Linked DNA regions of Homo sapiens: all the other regions are linked to region 4. The links are contacts of gene promoters, found by promoter capture Hi-C in blood cells and fetal thymus (Javierre and others, 2016). All regions are on one chromosome and are shown on one strand. The core of a region is centred on a gene start or on the middle of the fragment in contact, and the rest is flanking DNA. Distances in the headings are between cores, read along the strand shown.

Region 1 (3,245 bases), core at 132-2,631, 270 kb after region 4:
TTCTGAGGTCTTGAGAGTGCTCTTCTCTCCTCACAGAAGCAGGGTCACTGGCAGAGGGAGCCCAGGCTCCAACCCAGCTCTGCCGCATATTCACTGTGACTTTGGGTAAGTTCTCAGTATCTCTGAGCCCCAATTTCCTCACCTGTAAAATGGGTTCCATACTTAGACCTCCCTTACAGGATGTTCCCCACTTCAGGAGGCGCCCTGCACACAGTGGGCAGTTAATGAATGTTGCTGTTATTACACCACCCCAGGGCAGCTTCAAGGTCAAAGCTTGATGCCACTGATGTCTGGAGTCCACTGGGGCCTCCTGGAACCTGATCGGACACCGTCATCTTGGGGAGAGTAGGGTCAGCTGCTATTCTTGGAGCTGATGGAACCCAGCCGGGTTTCAAGTTCCCTCAGGGAGCCCTGGCCCAGGCAGCTTGGCTGGTCATGTGAGCAGTGAAGTCTGACCTCAGCAAGTTCTCCTGGACTCTCCGCATGGCCCCAGCTGGAGGGAACTTGGGCACAGAGCGTGCTACAGGGAGTCCATGTCCTCCTGCAGCTGACCTTAGCCTTTTAGCTCCTGTTCATCAGCATCTACTTGGTACCCAAAAGGTCCTCGGGTGCTGTTTGAGGGTCTCCCTGAGACTGCAAAGTGTTTCCAACATCAGGATGTGAGGCAGCCTTGAGTCATATGAAGAGGGTTTAGGAGACAAGCAGGACTAAGTTCTAATCCCGGCTGCAATACTCATTGGTCTGTGAGTCTTTCTGTAAGCCACTTTGGCTGAGCCTCAGTTTATTTGAAAAACAGTGAGAATGAAAGTTTCCTGAGATGATTAGAGCATCTGGTACAAAGTAGTTGCTCAATAAATGATCAAAATTTAGACTGTAATTTCCTAAATGATAAAGACTCTGTCAAATCCAGCCCTGCATCCCCAGCGCCCAACCTAGGGCCACCCAGCCTAGAGGAAGCCCTCAGTGTTGACCATATGAATAATGAATTATGGAGGGCACTGAATGGAAATGCCTTATCTGGCTCCCATCTTTCAGGTTTTGCATACTCACTCCACCCAAATCTCATATAGAGTTAGTCCCCTCTGCATCAGCCCTGACAGGCGAGCATCTCCTCTCTTCTTGCATATCCCTGTAATAGGAAGTTCACCTCCTCCCAGAGCTTCTCATTCTGCCAAGTAGAAAATGCTTTCTTCCACTCAGATGTCGATGAACTGAGTTCTGTCTCCTAGCAGCTTCCATCCATTGGGCCTAGTTCTGCTCTCTGGAGCTGTACAGAACAAGCCTAGTTCTGCTTCCGAAAGATAGCCCTCCAGTGAGCTATTACACAATTTAGAATGTGCCAGGCATCGAGCCAGGCACTGCACTTACTTTATCTCATTAAACCCTTTAACCCTTACACTAACCCTGAAAAGTAAACATTATCCTTACTCTAGAGATGAGGAAAATGAGGCTCATAGAGGAAACATAACACATTTGCAGAGAAATTATTTAAATCCAGATTCTTTTCCAAAACGCTACCTTTTCAATGCTCAGTTGATCTACTGGAAGATAGCATTTGTCTCTGAGAGTTTCCCTTCCCTTCCCTTTCCTTCAATAAAGATTTATTATGTATCTCATCTGTACCAGATCCTGAGCTAGGCACAGGGAATAGAAATGAGACATAATCTATTAGGACATAATCTATTGGGACAGGCACTTAACAGCCTGTCCCAAACCATGTGAAAAGGACAGAGACAGGCTGGGCATAGTAGTGCCATCATTTTGGGAGGCTGAGGCAGGTGGATCGCTTGAGTTCAGAAGTTTGAGACCAACCTGGGCAACATAGTGAGAACTTGTCTCTGTTTTTAAAAAATCAAATTAAGCCTGGACGAAGTGGCTCACGCCTGTAATCCCAGCACTTTGGGGGGCCAAGGCAGATGGATCACTTGAGGCCAGGAGTTCGAGACCAGCCTGGCCAACAGGCCAACATGGCAAAAGCCCATCTCTACTAAAAATACAAAAATTAGGCAGGATGCCAGGTGCCTGTAATCCCACCTACTTGGGGGGCTGAGGCAGGAGAATCGCTTGAACTTGAGAGGCAGAGGTTGCAGTGAGCCGAGATCATGCCATTGCACTCTAGCCTGGGCAACAGAGTGAGACTCTGTCTCAAAAAAAAAACAAAAACAAAAAAACCCACTAAATTTTAAAAAAGGAAAGAAAGAACTGAGAGAAGCACAAGGACTATCAGAAGACCACGGAACTTGAGGGTCCAGGATGACTTCCTGGAGGAGGTGACATGTGGGCTAAGTTTTAAAGGACTATTAGGAATTGTAAAGAGCTGAAGGTGTGGAGACCAGACTGCAGAGGGGTTGTAGTGACAAGCTAAGGAGCTGCGGCTTTACACCACTTGAGTGGGCTGCCCATTTTAGTATGAATAAGAATTTCCCGTGGTTTTCTTATTTAAAATCCAGATTTTCATTCCGTAGGTCTTGGTGGACCCAGACATCAGCAAAAGCTTGGCTGTAAGAAACAGCCTGGGTATTTTGTTGTTACTTTTTCTTTTAAAATATTTAATGGATAAACAAAAAGTGTATATATTCAAGGTATACAGTGTGATGATTTGATATACATTGTGTACTGATTACTATAGTCAAATTAATGAACGCATCCATCACCACTTAATTTCTCTCTGTGTGTGTGTGTGTGTGTGTGAGAGAGAGAGAGAGATAGGGATATTTTGGGGGTGGGGCAGGTGGTGCAGAGACCACAAGCAGTTCCCTGATGCAAAGATGCCTGAGTTAGGAATAAGATGGGGCTAAATATGGAGGCAGGGATCATCTCATGGGAGTGGGGAGACACACTGGGCAAAGAATTTTGGCCTTTCCCCTTTAGACAGTGGGGAGGCCTGATTTATAAACTGTAATACAATCACCATTCCTCAAGCCTGGGGAGGGGCACCAGCTGGGAATAGTTTCCACTCTGGGCCCCCAGCAGGTGCAAGTCTTCTCAGTGACTCTGTGCTCAGGCAGTGGAGAAGGGAAAAAGTAGGGGCAGCCCCCTACTTTTCCCCTGCCCCAGGCATGCCCCCTGCAGCTGTTTTGTGCCATCAGTACCCCTGGAGAGCCTCACCGTCAGCTCCCTGGATATTCAAAGAATGGCAGCAAAGGCAGGCTGTTTTAAAAGCTAGACTCCCTCACAAGGTAACAATACCACTCAGAAAAAAGACAATTATCTAATTGTAAGATTTCATTCCACAAAAGTCTTTT
Region 2 (3,148 bases), core at 358-2,857, 370 kb before region 4:
AAAGAGCCTAAAAGAAAATGTACCAAAACATAATAATAGCAGTTTTCTGTGGATGATGGGACTGTGGATGTTTTCCTTACACTACATCTGTATTTCATGATTTTTCTACAATATAATTTTCATAATCAGGGAGGAAACTGTTCACAATGAGCAATGCAATCCACCCGAACCAGACTGGCTAGAGGAAGCTCTTAAGCTCTCAAGGCTCAAATGACAGTAGGAAGACCCCATGTAAGTAGGTAGCCATTAGCTTTCTCCATCACACAACCCCATGTCACCATAACAACATACACTGTATAATAGCTACCATGCACTTAACATATTGATCTGTACCTATTATTTACCCATCTCCCTCCACTGGACTTGGAGATTCCTAAGACAAGGAACTCTTAGCTGTCTCTATATCCTTTACATCTGACACATATATTATTGATAGCAAACACTTATATACCATTTGCCATGTGCCAGGCACTACTGTAAATATACATAAATTAACTCATTTAATAAGTGTCAAATGAATCATTCAGTCACCTCACCTTAGGCCTACCTCACATCTGGATGGACTTCTGCCTGCAATACTTGTAAAAGCTTGTAAACCAAATGAGCAGGGCAAGTTTAGGTGGGTAGTAGGATATAGGTAACCATAATAGCCAAAATGTGCTGAACGTTTATTATATGACATTGTGCTGTATATGCATTATCTCATTTAAATCCTCAAAATAACCCTAGGGTAGATACTATTAATGGTCTCACAATAGAAATGAGAAAATTGAGATGCTCAATAGAGTAAATATTTGGCCCCATAAAATCTAGGTTCTAGGCCGGGCACAGTGGCTCACACCTGTAATCTCAGCACTTTGGGAGGCCGAGGCTGGAGGATCACTTGAGCTCACAAGTCCAAGACCAGCCAGGGCAACATGGTGAAAACCTGTCTCTACAAAAAAATACAAAACTTAGCCGGTCGTGGGGTGCATGCCTGTAGTCCCAGCTACTCACAGCACTTCACTCCAGCCTGGGAGACAGCCAGACCTTGTCTCAAAAATAAATAAATAAAAAAAAATAAAAACCCAAAACAAAAACCTAGGTTCTGCCACTTACTAGCTAACTCAGAAGTCCGACTCCAAAACCAATGTTCTTTCTGACGGTTACAGTCTACTTCAATTTAGAATGGTAATCCAGAATCCATGGTTAGACCCAATTCAATCAATAACCAACTTAATGAAGGTTGGAAAAAGCCTTTTGAGTTTGCCTCATCCAGACTTCCATTTCACACATGAATCCTGTTTATCAGAAACAAAAGGTAGTATAGATTACCTGATGAGCAAGGAATATACCATCAACCAAGGCAGCCCATCTACCCTCTCTTTTAACAGCTCCATAGTTTCAGAGCATGCATGTTTTCGAATGTCTTGCTTTCTCTTTTCTCCCTGGCAAACATCTGTTTATCCTTCTAGAGCAGGGGTTGGCAAACTAGGGTCTGCAGGCCAAATCCAGCCCACCGTCTGCTTCCGTAGGGCCCATGATATGCAAATATTTTGTTGTATATTTTTACATTTTTCAATGTTTGCAAAGCAAATCTAAAGACTCCTTTGTGATATGTTAAAATTAATTGTAATTCACATTTCAGTGTAGTTTTATTAAAATACATTCATGCTTATTTGTTTACTTACCATCTATAAGTAGCAACAGCATTTGATGGTCCACAAAGCCTAAAACATTTACCATTTGGCCCTTTACTGACTTTATTCTACAGTGATGGTTCAAATGTTAACTCCTCTTAAAACCTTTCCAAAACCACCTCCCCCAACAGCTAGTTAGTCCTCTTCACCAGGTTTCCAAAGCATTTTGTCTTTTGTCATCATCCTCTGACCACCAGCCCATTTCATCCTATCTTTTTTTTTTTTTTTTTGAGATGGAGTCTCCTTCTGTCACCTAGGCTGGAGTGCAGTGGCGCGATCTCGGCTCACTGCAACCTCCGCCTCCCGGGTTCAAGCGATTCTCCTGCCTCAGCCTCCTGAGTAGCTGGGATTACAGGCACGTGCCACCACGCCCGGCTAATTTTTGTATTTTTAGTAGAGATGGGGTTTCACCATGTTGGTCAGGCTGGTCTTGAACACCTGACCTTGTGATCCACCCGCCTTGGGCTCCTGAAGTGCTGGGGTTACAGGCATGAGCCACCGCACCCAGCCTAATTCTATCTTTTACTTGTATTTCTCACCACATATCTCTTTTTGTTTGTTTTTCAAGACCCAGTTTCACTGCTGCCCAGGCTGGAGTGCAGTGGTGCGATCTCAGCTCACTGCAACCTCCACCTCCCAGGTTCAAGCGATTCTCGTGCCTCAGCCTCCAGAGTAGCTGGGATTACAGGCACACCATCACGCCCAACTAATTTTTGTACTGTTAATAGAGACGAGGTTTTGCCACGTTGGCCAGGCTGGTCTCGAACTCCTGACCTCGATTTTGGACTCCCAAAGTGCTGGGATTACAAGTATGAGCCACCACACCCGGCTTCTCACCACATATCTCAAGAGCAAAAACACTGTATCTAATTGGTCTTTGAAAATCACAGCCACTGTTAAAGTAGGTACCTACCATTTGTTCAATGAAATCAATGAAGAATGAAAGACAAGCTTACAATGATATTTGCCTTGAAATGCAGAATGAAGCAAAACAGTTACGGAAATTGTCATAATATAATTACTGTAGAGTAGCTCAAAACATCTACTCTCTCAGAACTATCAAAATACTACTTCACTTAAAGGCAGAACAATGACAAGTATACCTAAAATGTTACATGAAGTTACACAGGGAACATTAAGTGAAAGAGATTCCAGTAGACTATTTTAAAAGATTTTATTAGAGGAAATAATCTAGTAGATAACTTTCTTACTTCCACAAAAACAAAGTTTCTCAAGGATACAAACCAATGGATTTATCTGTGAACTCGGTCCCAGAATAGAAACTAGCAAAAAGTCAGTACAGTACTCAAAAAATACTTTTGTGGTATGAAAAAAGGGCAGGTGCAGATGTAGAACTGTACCATCTTCAGTTTCTGTTCACAATTGTTTTAAAACAATTCTCATCTATCCAGTCTGCTCTCCCACGCCTCAGATGAGGGAAGCCAATGGTCAATGCTCTGTGATAGCCC
Region 3 (3,186 bases), core at 331-2,830, 350 kb before region 4:
TATTTAGTGCTAAGTCCACATCACTGTGCTGCTTCTTCTTAATGAAAACAGTAGAGATCATTCAGTCTCTCCTCTCTGTAAACCACCAGGCCATCGTCCGGAAACATCTGGGAAGAAATCCATCTCATTAAGACTTTCAGCAACCATTGCCTCAGGTAGCACTTTTTTGGAAGGTAGGGTAAGTGGGGTATAATCTACTTCCCAAGAATCCATACCCAAGAGATACATAAAACAAAAGTTTGAAATAGTATTAATTCCTTTTAGGGATTATTATTATTATTTCCATGGGGGAAATAATACTGGTTAATGTTTATTAAATATTTTCTAAGTGTCCGACACAATATTAAGTGCCTTTTGTTTTTTGATTGAATCCTCCCAACCCAGCCCCACTGCCCTAAGCTGCCCTTCTATGTGCTCCTGCAGCTACCTGGTATTTCTCTGCTTAAAGCACATATCATGCTGCCATGTAACTGTCTGCTTACTTGTCTTGGTATCTTACCAGACTGCAAGCTGAAAAAGGACAGGAATCACAATTATCATGTTTATCATTCATTTCCTCTTTCAACAAATATTCCTGAGCATGAACAAGACAGAAATAGTCCTGGTTCACTGTGGCAGATATGCCCTTCTTACAATGTGACCTCAACATACCTCCCATTGGGGGTGAGGGTGGGGGTCCTAATATTCCATTCCCTTGAATCTGCCCCTACAGGGTACTGTGGAAGTGATGCTATGTGCCTTGTAAGGCTAGGTGACAAAAATGCCATGCATTTCCACCTTGTTCTCTTATGGCACGCACTCTTGGAATCCAGCCTCCCATAAAGCTACTGTGAGGAAACCCATAGGAGCCCATGCGGAAAGATCACATGGAGAGGTAACCAGCTTAGCCAAGGCCCCAGTCATCATAGAACAGGGACAAGCCTTTCCCAGTGTGCCTTGTTTGAATTCCTTACTCACACAATTGTGAGCATAATAAAATGATTTCTTCATGCCCACTAAATTTTGGAGTGATTTATTACACAACAATGGTAACTGGAACAACCACACAAAGCTTAATATCTAACAAGGAATAAAAATACAAAATACCTGATTCCAAGGTATTACCTACACCTAACACAGTAACTTGAACAGAGCAAATTATTTGTTGAGTGTCTGAGGTAGTTATGATGCCCATTTTGCAGATGAGGAACGGAGGCTTTGAGAGTTAAGAAACTTGCCCAAGGCTACTCAGCTAGTGAGTGGCAGAACAAATTAAAACTCAGATCTAGGCCTGGCGCAGTGGCTCCCGCCTATAATCCCAATACTTTGGGAGGCCAAGGAGGGAGGATTACCTGAGGTCAGGAGTTTGAGATCAGCCTGGCCAACATGGTGAAACTCCATCTCTACTAAAAATACAAAAAAATACAAAAAAAAAAAAAATTAGCTGGGCATAGTGGCACATGCCTGTAGTCCCAGCTACTTGGGAGGCTGAGGCAGGAGAATCATTTGAACCCGGGAGGCAGAAGTTGCAGTAAGCCGAGATTGCACCACTCCACTCCAGCCTGGCAGAGTGAGACTCCGTCTCAAAAACAAAAGCAAACAAACAAACAGAAAAAACAGCAAAGAAAAAACTCAGATCTAAACCCACGTACCCAACACTCTACTCTTCTGTTACTCTCAGTACTTACAACTTTAAATATACAGTAGCTGGCTGGGCGCAGTGGCTCATGCCTGTAATCCCAGCACTTTGGGAGGCCGAGGCGGGCAGATCATGAGGTCAGGAGTTTGAGACCAGCCTTGCCAACATAGTGAAACCCCGTCTCTACTAAAAATACAAAAAATTAGCCAGACGTGGTGGCAGGCACCTGTAATCCCAGCTACTCGGGAGGCTAAGGCAGGAGAATCGCTTGAACCCAGGAGGCGGAGGTTGCAGTGAGCCAAGATCATGCCACTGGACTCCAGCCCGAGCAACAGTGTGAGACTCTGTCTAAAAAACAAAACAAAACAACAACAAAAAAAAACGGTAGTCTGTTTTAAAATGGGATTGTCAGTATTTAAAACATTCTGGCCTAACAGGATTTGTCATGCAGTTTCATCACTGAGATGGAAACCCACATATCACCTTCTCCAAAAAGCTTCTCCTGACCTTCATAATTCAAGTGATGCCAGCTCCACCAACCTCCCCAGCCTTTCTACTTCCTATTCCATCACAGTCTTATTGTTTTCCCAGCACTTGTTCCTAGTTGAAACTGTCTTATTAATTTGTTCATGAGTCTACTCTGTCTCTCTGACATGAATATAAGCTCCACCAGAGTAGGAACCTTGTCTGTCCTGTTTACAGCTATATCCCTAGTGCCTAGGACAGTGCCTGAAATATAGGAGGTGATCAAAAATTATTTACGGAATGAAGGAATGATTGCATTCAGGCAAAATGAATGCCCACCCAATCTTATTACTCACCAATAGATGTGAAAATAGAGAGGATAAGAGAAAACAAAAACAGAAGGATTGCAGCAGAATCATTCCATACAGTAAGGTCAGTGAAAAAAAAAAAAGGAAGAGGGGTTGGGATCCATGCTACAATTCATCTACTTAGAAAAGCATAAACTCTGAGTTCACAGACTGTCAGTCCAACTTTCAACTAAGTAAGGGCTGATGAGGAGAGAGGTGTTAAAACTTAGAATGGAGATGTAGGTAATGGATGGAGTAGGGGGCCACACCTCCTAACCTCCATTCATAACCACTGATCGCTCACTTACAAAAAAACTTCGCTGAACCACAGCAAGGACAATTGTTGGGGACCCTTAAACAGCAGACCTTCTACCATTCGCTTGGCTCTTCTTATGCACTAGATACAGCTACCTGGGATGCAGGTGCTGTTTCCCAAAGGCAAGCAAGTGGCAGTAACCTAGCTCTTCGCGGAAGAAGTAACGAGAGAAATCTTCAGACCCAGAACAGGGTCCTCTGCATATGCAGGTCCCCAACGGCTCTATTTCTCCCAGGTGGGAAGGTGACCGTTCCTCAGGACCTCCCAAGTGCTAGGCACTATGCTGGGCTCTTAACATGCTTTCCTTAATTTACGGGCCATTCCTTCCCCCCAATCCAATAATTTAGAGAGGCCTCAAGTACAACTTCTCCATTCCCCAGACCCGCTACTCTCTACCCCAAGAAATCTTCAAACTCCAGGAGCGGTTGGGGAAGATAAAA
Region 4 (3,454 bases), core at 854-3,353:
GAGATCAGACTTATTTTCTGCCCCTGCTACACTCCCATACATTTTAGACTAAGAAAACATTTTATTTGAAGTCATGGTCTACGAAGATTACACACAGGCAATTTAGTATCATCTGTGTCCATCTTGTACTATGCCGTATCTCTTTCCATCCAGGAAAACAGAAAGGTCAATTCCTAAGAAATGAAACTGTAACATTTAGAAATACTAGGAATAAGGCAGAACAATAGGTGTAAAACATCTAACAAAGTGAAATTAAAAGACAGTGATACAGGGGTTGTAAATGTCTTCATGACGCTTATAAAATGCACACAAGGATAAAACAGAAATACAAAGGCTGGGCGCAGTGGCTCACGCCTGTAATCCCAGCATTTTGAGAGGCTGAGGTGGGTGGATCACCTGAGGTCAGGAGTTCGGGACCAGCCTGGCCAACATGGTGAAACCCCGTCTCTACTAAAAATACAAAAATCAGGTGGGCATGGTGGCAGGCAAATCACTTGAACCCGGGAGGTGGAGGCTGCAGTGAGCCGAGATCGCAACACTGCACTCTAGTCTGGGTGACAGAGCAGAACTCTGTCTCAAAATAAAAAAAAGAAAAGTAGATGTTATTATCACTTCAAGGTGATAACTTATCCTATCTTATACAGGATGGCACAGCCTTAACTCAAACCCGGAAAAGCCAGACTGCAATTACTGTGCTCTTAACTACTTCACCTTACAACACACTGTGTGAAACTGGATAATGTTAATATGTAACTGAGAGCTTGCTTTTGGTGTACTTATTACAATAAATCAGGCTTCCCAGCCACTGACTGAACATTGTGGATTGGGCCTCAATTTGCTTACCCACAAAATGGAGAAAATAGAATCTTCCGTTTATTCAACCAATATTTATTAAGTACCCATCGTGTGCCAGGCACTATTTTAGGATAATGGAAGATTAAGTGAAAAAATGCAAAATGGTAAATCCACTTTCCCACTACCTTAATCCCTTGCATTTATTTGTAAGGTACAGTGGTTTTATTTATTAAGTATCATTTGATGAATACTATGGAACTAACATAATTCAAGCAAAATTTTGCATTCAATTTCGGCAGATTCACAAACCTCCTAAAGTCCACATATTGCCCTCCATTAAAGTTAAAAACTGTTGCAAAGGGACTTAAACCATTCTGTCATATTGGAAACTCCTTTGGCATTTCCAGCCCACCTAACACAGCAGAGACGAGGGTACTATTATTCATGTGTTACAGACAACTAGAATCGTATATAATCATTGCAGTTTCACAAATAGATCAGGATAAGAATGCCTTTTCCAACTGTCACAGCAGAAGACTCTTCAATTCCGGGGTTAGAAAAGAGAAGTAGGAAGGGGGCCACCAGACTTCTCTTCTGAAAAGAAGGTGAATGACAGACAGCCCAGCAGTTAGGAGCTCATCTGAAAAAAAGATCTGGGTAGGAGCCCAGACTGCTTAGTCACGAAAAGCGACCTAAGACACGTCCCTCCCTGGGCGCAATTTACGTCCGTAAAATGGGGTAATAACCTCTGCTCCGCCTTCCCTGTAGTGGTTCCTACACTATAGCTCAAAGAACGAAACAAGTAGAGTGCTTTACAAATGCAGATGGAGGGAAAGTCATCACTGAGCATCAGGGTGCGGAGGGCAGGAATGCTCCTGCTTCTAGGCTGTTGGCTTCCGCCTTCCCCCCTGCAAACTCAGTTCCCTGCAGCGCGGGAAGCCTTTTAGGAATCGGAGTGTGGAACAGAGGAACGCTCTTAACAGTTCAGAACAGTGCCTGGCACTGAACAGGCGCTTGGTACATGTCAGCTAAAAGAATCAATGACTGAGTCTACAGAGAACGTCCTCAGTTTCAGAGGTTCCGATGCGCCCTCCCCCGAGTCCCTCGCAGCCCGCTGGACGCCACACTCACCCGGCTCCAAAGCTTCCTCCGGCTAGCCGCAAGCCCTCCGTTTCCTACCGCCTCCACTTCGAGAGCTCCGGGGGATGCGGCACCTCTAACCTGCACCAGCAGGGCTCCTTCTACAACTACGGGCCGAAAGCCAGGACCAAAGCGTGTGTCTCACTAGAAATGAAAAGAAGGTGGAAGGAGAAAAGAAAACTTCGCGCCAATCGGCGTGGCCCCGCCCCCAGACCGTCCCTTCGTTGCGACACCAACTAGCTCGCCCCGCCCACTCCGTACACCTAAGAGGGGCGCATGACGTACATCCGCTAACATGCAGCCGCCATCATTGATTCGATAGGCGACGCGGGGAGCGGAAGCCCTTTACACTACGGTGTTTCCGGCTTCAAGATGGTCGCCTAAGCTGTTTAGTGAAACTTCTTCCACCTTTCTCCATTCCTCTAGGTGCTTTTTCTGAACCTGGATGTGAGGCATTAAAGGATCCGACGGAAATAGAATTGAAGGCATTCTAAAATGGCTAACCGTACAGTGAAGGATGCGCACAGCATCCATGGCACCAACCCTCAATATCTGGTGGAGAAGATCATTCGAACGCGAATCTATGAGTCCAAGTACTGGAAAGAGGAGTGCTTTGGACTTACAGGTAAGTGGAAGCGCGCGGAGCGCCTCTCAGCCCCCTTGTGGCCCATTTCTCCTGACCGAGCGCGGGTAGGACTAGCGACTGGCCTCTGGGGGTGGTACTGGAACGGAGTATGTCGATCATTCAGAAAAATTTTGAGTGCCTGCTAAGTGCCTCGTCTTGTGTTGAGTATTAGAGGCACAGATGAATCTGGTAAGGTCATATTCTGAAGGCTGTCTCAGTTGGGTGTTGTGAGTTATTCCGTATTTAATGATAGCAGGCTGGGTTGCAACAGTGTTAAGCTCAGGGATCCGGATATAACACTTTGACACAATCTGTTGAAGGTCTTTAAGGACCTAACGTTAATATGCCTGAAACCAAATTCATGATCTTACTATTCTTAGATCTGGGCCGGTTCCAGTATTTATAAATATCAGTGCTTCAGAGAAGTCTTCCAGGTAATCTTCCGATTTGAATTGTGGCTTTAAATCCATGTCCTGTGACAATCTGTGGACCTTGAGCAAGTCACTTTACCTTTCTTAGCCCTCATTTTCCTTACCTGGAAATAAGAACATTGCTAGAACTTTCTTCATGACTTGTTAAAAAAGGTTAAGTGAGATAATATGAAAAGCTTAGCAGGGTACCTATTTTATTATCCATTCTCAATGTATATTAGCTGTTGTCGTTACTGTTATTAATACACATTCGTTCTCCTAATATTACACTGTTGATGTATATTTAGGAGAACCAAAGCTTGAACTAACTCCACTCCAACTAGGAAGAGCTTAGCCCTAATATGTTACTGTATTGTTTTTGTTTTTTAGCTGAACTTGTAGTCGATAAAGCCATGGAGTTAAGGTTTGTGGGTGGCGTCTATGGTGGCAACATAAAACCAACACCCTTTCTGTGTTTAACCTT
Region 5 (3,590 bases), core at 772-3,271, 260 kb before region 4:
GCATGAAAAATACAGTGCTAATATTAGGTTACAGCGCTAATGATCTCAATCAGTTGAAGGGCCCTTTTCCCTTGACTAAACATTTTTTAGCAACAAATGACCCTTACAGCATTTTGTTAATATTGTTGAAAGGACTGTTGGGGCATCAGGTTGGGGACTGAAGGGAATCTCAGGGTCTACTTCCAGCTCTTCCTTAGGTTGGATATATTTCACATGTAAAATGGTAGCATAGGACCTAACTCATAGAATCACTGCGAGGATGAATCATGGTTTCCCTTTGAGCCCCAGTTTCTCTTGTTATAGAAAGGGCATAGTGATTTTTTTGTGACTCAGGAGTATGTGGCAAAGGCACACTTAGGATTATGCAGGAACAGCTTTCATTAAGAGAGCTACTAGGTGACATCTTCTCCATGGTGGCTGCTCAATTATTAAATGAATGATTCCTGGAGACCTTTTGTAGTTTCTATTATTTATCATCATTAGGCCATAACCTAAGGTAAGGTGAGATTGCCTTATAACATTTTTTATACATAAAAAATACTGGTTGCATGCTGCTATCTGCTGTGCAACAGAATGTCATAGGATCCAGTGTATGAGGCTCTATTCTTCCATGGAGGGGTGTTACATAAACCCATTAGTGAAATTTAGGGAAATTTCACCCAGACTAGGGAGGATGAAGAATGGAGCATCTATCTTTTGACAGAAATACAGTTACACACACACATACACACACACATACACACACACAGAGAGAGAGAGAGAGAGAGAGAGAATGAGAAACAAAAACAGAGGAGTACAAAATTGAGCCTAAGAAAAAGAACTGGAACCAATAAAAATTGTAACTAACATTTATTAAGTATCTTCTATGGGCCAGTCTCTTTATCTCCAATCTTCAACAACCAGCAAGGCAGGCAGGAGAAAACTGAAGTTCAAAAATGTTACATAACTTCCCCAGGGTCATAAAGCTATATATACATGACAGAACTGGAACTGGTAGTGTTGGTATGTGTCTGACACCAAAATCACTACACATTCTAGTATACCACTCTGTTAAAAAAGTGTATTTGGAAAATTTAGGGATCAGAGGATTTGGAGAATTTTCTTTCCCTACTTCCCCTCTGACAGTCGTGTTTGTTTTTGGTTCTGATGTTTGCACCCTAGAGGCTGACTGGGATCAAATATGGGGCATCTGTAAACAGAATGATTCCATAGCCCCCACTGTGTAATAATTTCCTTCCTTCAGAGCCTTACTAGGATTTGCCTGGGATGAGGGGTGGAAAGGTGGGAGAGAAGAGGTTGGGAGGGAGAGGATGTTAGTAAAAGATGGGTGATTCTTTGCTTACCTTTAAGTTGTTTATGAATTTCAGGACAACCCGTTGGCTATTCTCTTCTCTGGCTTGGCATATATATATATGTATGTATTTTTTTTTCATTTTTGTTTTGTGGGGGTGGTGGTTTAGGTGTTAAGGGTTTGGTTGATATCTGTAGAAAATTTCTTAATGATCTACACAGTAGATAAAAAAACAAGTTAAGGTCAAAGACAATTCCTTCGTCTGTTTTGGGAGACGAGTGTGTATGTTTGAAAAAAAGGTTTGTTCTGGGTCACTCTTCTTTCATCCAGACGCATTAAAGGAATTAGAAGGGGGTCTCCCTGCCACCCCCGAAACCGTGAGAGTCAAACGGAGATTCCCTTATATTCCTGCTCTCAGGTGCGGGTCCGAGTGACAAGAACGTTCACGTATCTTCGGGAGAGAACGAAAAGGTGCTCGGGTCTGGCGGGGGCGGGGAACGCCAGGGGTTGGTGGGAACTGAGGGGCTTCCGGTTCCCGGGAAGCGGAGTCCCGGGCCGGCCGCGGGCCGCGGGCTACGCAGGGAGCACGGGGCCCTCGCCGCCCCCAGGCCGCGCTCCTTAGCGTTCCCTGCGGCTCGTGCCCAGCGCGGCCGCCGCAGTCCCGACGCCGTAGCCGGACGTGGGGTCCAGGGGGCGCTGTGGCCCAGCGGCGCCGGCGGCAGGAGCGGCCACCCGACGCTGGAGGCTTCGCTGAGGATCCCCGCCTGCCGCACCTCGGTCGTCCCGCCGCAGCCTTGCGCCCCCGGCCCGGCTCGGCGGCGCTCCTCCGGGATCCGCGTGGCTGCCGCGGCCCGGGCGCCGATGCGGCTGGGCGGGTGCCGGGCCTTAGCAGCAGTAGCAGCCGCAGCTGCGGCTACCGCAGCTCCTACAGGAGTGGGAGGTTTCGCGGCGGCGCCTGGGGCCGCGCCGGTGCCCTCCGGAGGAGGCTTTCGGCTCAGGGACGACCCCCGTGGCCATGCTGAAGCGGAGGCGGCCGCTGCTCGAGGTGAGTGTGGCGCGGCGTGGTCCGGGGCTCGCCGGCCTCCCGCCGCCTGTGGGGGCCCTGGCGGCAGACCGCGGGCCGGGCGGACGGGGCGTCCTGCCACTGCGGTCGCCTCCCCCACCCTGCGGTCCTGGGGCCTCAGCCCTTTCTCCCCGCGTCCCCCGGGAGGCTGAAGGCCGTGGGGGGCGATTAGGCCCCGCGCCGTTGGGAAGCCCTCGCTCCGGCCTCGGTTCCGGCGCGGCCGGGTGTGTGGAGCTGGGGGCCGGCAGGAGCACGGCCGCCTTTCGGGTTTGCATGGGCCCGGGCCGAGCGCAGCCTCTTAGCCCGGGCCCTGCACGTACATCCCGGAGGGAGGCAGATGACGCCTGTTTGCAAACAAGCTTTGGCTTCCACGCGTCCCATACCGAGTCCCTCAGAATCCCGGTTGTGGCGGGGAAAGGGGGAGGAGAGGAAGGCCAGGGTGAGAATTGGGGGTGCAGAGAGTGCGGGACCAAGAGAGCCCCTGCTACTCCTGGAGTGTCATTCATGGATCTGGCTTGCTCGAGAACAACCTTTTGCGTCTTATTTGAGGTGAAATTTCATCACCTGCCGGTTGCTCATTCCTGCCTCTTTATATTATATCTTGCCTCTAAGCGTGGTCTGCCTTGGAGAAAGCCCCATCGCATCTTTGCGATGCTAAGTTTTGTAGATAAACACTCACAGTTATAAAAACGTCTTTTACAAAGGTCTGCCCCCCACACCCCGCCAGAAGAAATATTTTTATGCTTCAGTGTTCGGTACAAAAATGTTCCACTTAAAGAGATCCAGAGAATAGTTGGCAAAAGGATTTTAAGTCCTCTTTAAGTGCCAGCTACCCTAATAAATACCTGAAGGAAATGGGATACATGCTAAATTTTAGAAATAAAATGATTTGTTCTGATATTAATGTTGAAAATGCTACTGATTACAGTTTGATACCGTAAGTCAGATATTTATGTTTTGTGAGAAATGTGATTACAGGTTATTCTTGTTTTCCTGTTATGTATGTGAAAGTTATAAGACTTATAGGTACTTGCAAAACTTTTATAATCATGAAAAAATATGCTTATTGTAGAAAACTTGGGAATTATAGAAAGGTACCATGTTGGCTCTTAATAAATATTTAATAATAGGAGAAATCACCCATAATCTCACAGATTGTAAACAGTACAGGTTTATAATGGGCTCGTACTGACAGTGATTTTTAAAATTATTATTTCTGTATATTAGGTTTAAAAT
Region 6 (3,517 bases), core at 48-2,547, 340 kb after region 4:
CTATTCGGATGGCTGAGGTGGGAGGATCTCTTGAGCCTGGGAAGTCGAGGCTGCAGTGAGTTGTGATTATGCTATTGTACTCCAGCCTGGGTGACAGAGCAAGACCCTGTCTCTAAAAAAAATAAAAGATAGAAAAAGAGATGTAAAAGAGAGAATTTTTTTTGTATTTTTTTACAGCTGTACAATGTGTTTATGTTTTGTTACTTCAAGAGTCAAAAAGTAGGCCAGGCGCGGTGGCTCACGCCTGTAATCCCAGCACTTTCGGAGGCGGAGGCGGGCGGATCACGAGGTCAGGAGATCGAGATCGTCCTGGCTAACATGGTGAAGCCTCGTCTCTACTAAAAATACAAAAAATTAGCCGGGCGTGGTTGCAGGCGCCTGTAGTCCCAGCTTCTCGGGAGGCTGAGGCAGGAGAATGGCCTGAAGCCGGGAGGCGGAGCTTGCAGTGAGCCGAGATCGTGCCACTGCACTCCAGCCTGGGCGACAGAGCGAGCCTCCGTCTCAAAAAAAAAAAAAAAGAGTCAAAAAGTTAATAAAAAAGTAAAAGTTCTGGGGGGCAGCCCCCGCCCGGCCAGCCGCCCCGTCCGGGAGGGAGGTGGGGGGCAGCCCCCGCCCGGCCAGCCGCCCCGTCCGGGAGGTGGGGGGCGCCTCTGCCCGGCCGCCCCGTCTGGGAAGTGAGGAGCCCCTCTGCCCGGCCGCCACCCCATCTGGGAGGTATACCCAACAGCTCATTGTGAACGGGCCATGATGACGATGGCGGTTTTGTCGAATAGAAAAGGGGGAAATGTGGGGAAAAGAGAGAGAAATCAGATTGTTGCTGTGTCTGTGTAGAGGGAAGTAGACGTAGGAGACTCCATTTGGTTCTGAGATTAGGGAGTCATCACCACTCCCTAATCTCAAGTACCCAGGGACACAAACACTGCGGAAGGCCGCAGGGTCTTCTGCCTAGGAAAACCAGAGACCCTTGTTCACTTGTTTATCTGCTGACCTTCCCTCCACTATTGTCCTATGACCCTGCCAAATCCCCCTCTCCGAGAAACACCCAAGAATGATCAATAAATACTAAAAAAAAAAAAAAAAAAAAAAGTAAAAGTTCATAAAATCGCTAAGAAAGTTACAGTAAGATAATGTTAATTTATTACTGAAGAAAGACAAATTTGCTCAGGAGTTCGAGACCAGCCTGGGCAACATAGCAAGACCTTGTCTTTACCAAAAATAAAAAAAAATTAGCTGGGTGCTTTGGTGCACACCTGTAGTCCCACGTATTATTCCAAAGGCTAAGGTGAGAGGATCGCTTGATTCCAGGAAATTGAGACTGCAGTGAGCTATGATCACACTACTGTACTCCAGCCTGGGTGATAGATTCTGTCCCCACCCCCCAAAAAGAAAAAACATTTAAATAAATTTAGTGTAGCTTAAGTATTTATAGTCTACAATAGTGTGCAGTAATGTCCTAGGCCTTCACATTCACTATCACTGATTCAACTGATATATTCCAAGTACCTTCCAGTCCTGCAAGCTCCATTTATGTTAAGTCCCCTCTACAGGTGTACCATTTTTTATCTTCTATGCCTATCCCTACTGTACCTTTTCTTTTCTTTCTTTTTTTTTTGAGACAGAGTCTCGCTCTGTCACCCAGACTGGAGTGCAGTGGCACAATTGATCTCAGCTCACTGCAACCTCCGCCTCCTGGGTTCAAGCGATTCTCCTGCCTCAGCCTCCCCAGTAGCTAGGACTACAGGCACAAGCCACCACACCCAGCTAATTTTTTTATTTTTAGTAGAGATGGGGTTTTACCATGTTGCCCAGGCTGGTCTCAAACTCCTAACCTTAAGTGATCTGCCCACCTCAGCCTCTCAAAGTGCTGGGATTACAGGTGTGAGCCACTGCATCCAGCCTTTTTCTATGTTTAGATTTTTCAGATACACAAATACTTAACATTTTGTTACAGTTGCCTACAGTATTCAGTACAGTAACATGCTGTACAGGTTTTTGCATCCTATCTACCACCTCTATGATCACACAATGACAAAATTGCCTAATGACACATTTCTCAGAATATATTCCTGTTGTTAAGCAACACATGACTGTACTAATATTATCCCCACTCTACATAGGATAGAACTGAGTGTCAGAAGAGCTAGGTAATTTGACCATTGTGATAACACTAGAATTCAACTTCAGTTCTACTGTTGTTCTTAACTACGATATTTCTAGAGAAGGGCTGGGTACGCTAGCTCACGCCTGTAATCCCAGCACTTTGGGAGGCCAAGGCGGGCGGATCATGAGGTCAGGAGATCGAGACCATCCTGACTAACATGGTGAAACCCCGTCTCTACTAAAAATACAAAAAGTTAGCCGGGCATGGTGGCACGCGCCTGTAGTCCCAGCTACTCAGGAGGCTGAGGCAGGAGAATCTCTTGAACCCGGGAGGCGGAGGAGGTTGCAGTGAGCTGAGATCGCGTTACTGCACTCCAGCCTGGCAGAGCGAGACTCCATATCAAAAAAAAAATATATTTCTAGAGAAGTCATTTTTGTGCCTCAGCTTTCTTAACTGTAAAATGAAAATTTTAATACTTTTTCTTCTACTTTGTAAGGTTATTGTGAGTATCAAATGAAATCAGGATGTGAATATGCTTTGTTTACTGTAAGGCATTGCTACCAGCATAATTCACAAAGGATATTTTTTCTTATAATTAACCAAAACATAAACCTCATTGCTCAGAGATTCTGAAGTCCACAAGTGCTCAGAAGGTTGAAATGCTTCTTTGCCATGGCTCTGGCAATACAGTAACAGAATGAAGCTTTTAATACACAAAACAAACTAACCAACAAAACAGATAACTGACTGAGTCTTGGGGAAATTACTGAGAATACCTCTAGTTGAGTGTTGTGTAAATGACTAAATACTTCAAGGCAGGAGCATTTAGGAAGACCAATAAAAACCGGAGTGGGGGTTGTGGGAAGGAAGGGTAGAGATTAAAAGAAAGCTATGAGAAGGTTTAGGAAGAGCTAATGGATTGAGATTCCTTTTTTGCCTTGTCTTCATTGCCCCATGCTCTCTGGTATGCCTTGCTTTTATAAGAAGCTGTGGTTCAAGAGCAGAGGATCTGCTTATAGGTAGTTCATTTATTCATACTTACTTCTTACTCAGTAGACACTGAAACATTTACTCTGTAAGCATAGGGGATATGGAGATGTATAAGGCATGGCTCTAACCTGGTGGTTTTCTTTGTTTTTGTTTGTTATGGAGTCTCACTCTGTTGCCCAGGCTGGAGTGCAGTGGCGCGATCTTGGCTCACTGCAACCTCTGCCTCCCGGTTCAAGCAATTCTCCTGCCTCAGCCTCCCGAGCAGCTGAGATTACAGGCATCCACCACCATGCCCAGCTAATTTTTGTATTTTTAGTAGAGATGGGGTTTCACCATGTTGGCCAGGCTGGTCTTGAACTCCCGACCTCAAGCAATCCACCCATCTCAGCCTCCCAAAGTGATGGGATTACAGGTGTGAGCCACTGC
Region 7 (3,135 bases), core at 323-2,822, 310 kb before region 4:
TCTCAAAAAAGGAGTAAAAACAAAATACAAAAAAAAAGTGGGCAAAAGACTTAAATAGACATTTCTCCAAAGATATACAGATAGCAGGCACATGAAAAGATACTCAGCATCACTAATCATTAGGGAAATGCAAATGAAAACCACAATGAGCTAGCACACCTAATAGATGTGAACCTATTAGGGTGGTTATTATAAAAAATAAGTGTCAGGATGTGGAGAAATTGGGATCCTTGTACATTGCTGGTGGGAATGTAAAATGGTACAACCACTGTGGAAGACAATGTGGAGGGTCCTCAAAAAATTAAATGTAGAATTACCATATGATCCAACAATTCTACCTCTAGGTATATATCCAAAGGAATTGAAAGCAGGGACTCAAACATATTTGTACACCAATGTTCATAGCAGCATTATTCACAACAGTAACTCAAGTGCCCATTGATGGATGGATGGATGGATAAACAAAATATGGTATGTACATGCAACAGAATATTTTTCAGCCTTTAAAAGGAAGGAAATTTTGACACATGCTACAACAGGGATGAACCTTTAAAACATTATGCTAAGTGAAATAAGCGAGACATAAAAGAACAAATGTTATATGATTCCACTTATATGAGGTACCTTAGAATAGTGGTCCCCAACGTTTTTGGCACCAGGAACTGGTTTCATGGAAGACAATTTTTTCCACAAACCAGTTGGGGGCATACTGGGGGATGGTTTTGGGAAGGTTCAAGTGCATTACATTTATTGTGTACTTTATTATTATTACATTGTAGTATGTAATGAAATAATTACACAACTCACCATAATGTATAATCAGTGGGAGCCCTGAGCTTGTTTTCCTGCAACTAGACTGCCCCATCTGGGGGTCATATGAGACAGTGACCCATTATCAGGCATTAGATTTGCATAAGGAGCCCACAACCTAGATTCCTCGCATGTGCAGTTCGCAACAGGGTTCACGCTTCTATGAGAATCTAATGCTGCTACTGATCTGACAGGAGGCGGAGCTCAGGCAGTAATGCAAACAATGGGGAGCAGCTGTAAATAAAGACGAAGCTTTGTTCACTCACTCTCTATTCACCTCCTGCTGTGCAGTCTGGTTCCTAACAGGTCACTGATCAATATGGGTCATGGCCTGGGGGTTGGCGACTCCTGCCTTAGCATGATCAAATTCATAGAGACAGAAAGAATTACTATGGGGTAGAAAGGGAGTGCAGAATGGAGAGTTATTGTGTAGTGAGTACAGAGTTTGAGTTTGGAATGGATGAAAAAGTTGTGGAGATGGATAGTCATGATGTTTGCACAACAATATGAATGTATTTAATGCTACTGAATTGTGTACTCAAAATTGGTTAAAATGACAAACTATGTATATCGTGTGTGTGTGTGTATGTGTGTGTGTGTGTGTGTGTGTGTGTGTGTGTGTTTTCTAGACAGGGTCTTGTTCTATCACCCAGGCTGGAGTGCAGTGGTTTGTTCTTGGCTTGCTGCAACCTCCGCTTCCTGAACTCAAGCAATCCTCCTGCTACAGCCTTCCAAGTAGCTAGGACTACAGGTGTGTACCACCATGCCCAGCTAATTTTTGTACTTTTTTTTTGGTAGAGACAGGGTTTCGCCATGTTGCCCAGGTTGGTCTTGAACTCCTGGACTCAAGAAATCTGCCTGCCTTGGCCACCCAAAGTGTTGGCATTACAGGCATGAGCCACTATACTGGGTCAACTTTATGAATATTTTACTATAACAACAAAAAAAAACCTGTGAAATGCCTCTAGGAACCCCATGTGGAAGAGATCAGCCAACTGTAGGTAAGTCTAACCGATCAAAAACATTATGGATACAGTTTACCTCAGCAATAAGTCATTCCCAAGACCACAGTGCTGAGAAACTTTGAGTTGGTACTCTGAGGAGTCAGAGATGAGTTGGCACTAATCCCTACCTCCACAGTATTACAGTTGTTAGAAAATAGCATACACTCAAAAAATAAAAGGTCATACCAAGGACCAGGTCAGTGCTACAGACTCTTTTTAAGTGTCACAGAAGAAAAGGATCTTCATCCCATCTTTATGTTTGCTAGAGCAAGCTTGTTATCACAGTGTATTTAGCCCAACTCACACCCATTCTAATATTGTTTTACATCCACATATCCTTCTTAAGAAGCCTAGACAGCCATGTTTACAGAGCGTGACTCCACACCAGTAATAGATGCTCAGACCGAGGGCAAAACAGTGACCCAAGAACCAATCCATAGACTAACAGCTGAGCCAATCCATTTATTTCTAAGGATTCTGTACTAAGACTGAATCAGATGCTAATGGACCCTTGGACTGAACGATCCTGTAGGATGGAGCTAGAACACTCACACTGGGCCAGGTACAAGCAGTGGAAGCTATAAGAATGAAGCCGAAATAATAGACAACCCTAAAAAGAGAACAGTCTCAGAAAATGATTTCACAATTTCTGTCCTATGATGCCTGGCTGTCCTTTTTCTGTCCCTGGGTTGCTAACTTGTCAGTGAGATTTTTGTGTTCTTAAAAACACCTCCCTCTGCCACCATCATTCCGTTTAAGCCAGCTTGAGAGACTGTTCCTTGCCACCAAATGATCTTAGAGCAAGGGCATTTGAAGCCGGGCATGATGGCTCACACCTGTAATCCCAGCACTTTGGGAGGCCGAGGTGGGCAGATCACTTGATGGCAGGAGTTCGAGACCAGCCTGGCCAACATGGTGAAACCCCGTCTCTACTAAAAATACAAAAATTAGCCAGGCGTGGTGGCATGCGCCTGTAATTCCAGCTACTCTGGAGGCTGAGGCATGAGAATCACTTAAACTCAGGAGGCAGAGGTTAAGAAAAATTAAGAAAAAAAAATTAAAACTGTTAAATGGAAATGTCACAGGGACCATCCTTCTGGCATTCTTTTTTTTTTTTTTTTTTTGGAGACAGAGTCTCTCTCTGTTACCCAGGCTAGAGTGTAATGGTGTGACCGCGGTTCACTGCAGCTTCCGCCTCCCGGGTTCAAGCCATTCTCCTGCCTCAGCCTCCCTAATAGCTGGGACTCAGGCACACGCTGCCACACCTGGCTAATTTTTTGTATTTTTTAGTGGAGACGGGGTTTTATCATGTTGCCCAGGC

What was found. Contacts are between HindIII fragments. The CHiCAGO score rates a contact against its expected background, and 5 or more counts as called.
Region 1: a fragment that was not itself captured here is called in contact with the fragment with the promoter of ORC1 in region 4 in 9 of 17 cell types (M0 macrophages, megakaryocytes, erythroblasts and 6 more); the score reaches 11.5 in M0 macrophages.
Region 2: a fragment that was not itself captured here is called in contact with the fragment with the promoter of ORC1 in region 4 in 1 of 17 cell types (fetal thymus); the score reaches 5.9 in fetal thymus.
Region 3: a fragment that was not itself captured here is called in contact with the fragment with the promoter of ORC1 in region 4 in 1 of 17 cell types (fetal thymus); the score reaches 7.8 in fetal thymus.
Region 5: a contact is called between the fragment with the promoter of ZFYVE9 here and the fragment with the promoter of ORC1 in region 4, in 2 of 17 cell types (endothelial precursors and M1 macrophages). The highest score is 7.8, in endothelial precursors.
Region 6: a contact is called between a fragment that was not itself captured here and the fragment with the promoter of ORC1 in region 4, in 2 of 17 cell types (M1 macrophages and naive CD4 T cells). The highest score is 5.2, in M1 macrophages.
Region 7: a fragment that was not itself captured here is called in contact with the fragment with the promoter of ORC1 in region 4 in 1 of 17 cell types (endothelial precursors); the score reaches 5.1 in endothelial precursors.

The regions. Positions count from the first base shown.
Region 1 is chr1:52,676,282-52,679,526 of GRCh38, forward strand. No RefSeq gene overlaps it. Among named protein-coding and RNA genes, the nearest start is that of COA7, 20 kb to the right of the region's middle. The HindIII fragment of the contact is 2,221 bases long and covers 272-2,492 here.
Region 2 is chr1:52,029,269-52,032,416 of GRCh38, forward strand. The region is part of intron 2 of TXNDC12 (thioredoxin domain containing 12); the gene reads right to left. KTI12 (KTI12 chromatin associated homolog) reads right to left here. Exons shown (of 1, transcript NM_138417.3): 1 at 2,835-3,148. Among named protein-coding and RNA genes, the nearest start is that of KTI12, 3.0 kb to the right of the region's middle. The HindIII fragment of the contact is 2,042 bases long and covers 587-2,628 here.
Region 3 is chr1:52,051,695-52,054,880 of GRCh38, forward strand. All of the region lies in intron 1 of TXNDC12 (thioredoxin domain containing 12), which reads right to left. TXNDC12-AS1 (TXNDC12 antisense RNA 1) reads left to right here. Exons shown (of 3, transcript NR_126385.1): 2 at 90-155; 3 at 713-989. Among named protein-coding and RNA genes, the nearest start is that of TXNDC12, 1.9 kb to the right of the region's middle. The HindIII fragment of the contact is 1,063 bases long and covers 1,050-2,112 here.
Region 4 is chr1:52,402,320-52,405,773 of GRCh38, forward strand. It overlaps ORC1 (origin recognition complex subunit 1), which reads right to left and starts at 2,104. Exons shown (of 17, transcript NM_004153.4): 1 at 1,927-2,104. PRPF38A (pre-mRNA processing factor 38A) reads left to right here and starts at 2,283. Exons shown (of 10, transcript NM_032864.4): 1 at 2,283-2,560; 2 at 3,361-3,454. The coding sequence starts at 2,431. RefSeq lists an enhancer at 1,603-2,802. The HindIII fragment of the contact is 1,229 bases long and covers 1,937-3,165 here.
Region 5 is chr1:52,140,068-52,143,657 of GRCh38, forward strand. It overlaps ZFYVE9 (zinc finger FYVE-type containing 9), which reads left to right and starts at 2,022. Exons shown (of 19, transcript NM_004799.4): 1 at 2,022-2,336. It overlaps LOC107984956 (collagen alpha-2(I) chain-like), which reads left to right. Exons shown (of 5, transcript XM_047439476.1): 2 at 1,126-1,222; 3 at 1,368-1,414; 4 at 1,710-2,336. RefSeq lists a silencer at 1,822-2,681. The HindIII fragment of the contact is 13,456 bases long and covers 1-2,711 here.
Region 6 is chr1:52,742,339-52,745,855 of GRCh38, forward strand. All of the region lies in intron 1 of ZYG11B (zyg-11 family member B, cell cycle regulator), which reads left to right. Among named protein-coding and RNA genes, the nearest start is that of ZYG11B, 18 kb to the left of the region's middle. The HindIII fragment of the contact is 3,010 bases long and covers 1-2,802 here.
Region 7 is chr1:52,097,287-52,100,421 of GRCh38, forward strand. No RefSeq gene overlaps it. Among named protein-coding and RNA genes, the nearest start is that of BTF3L4, 43 kb to the left of the region's middle. The HindIII fragment of the contact is 1,024 bases long and covers 1,061-2,084 here.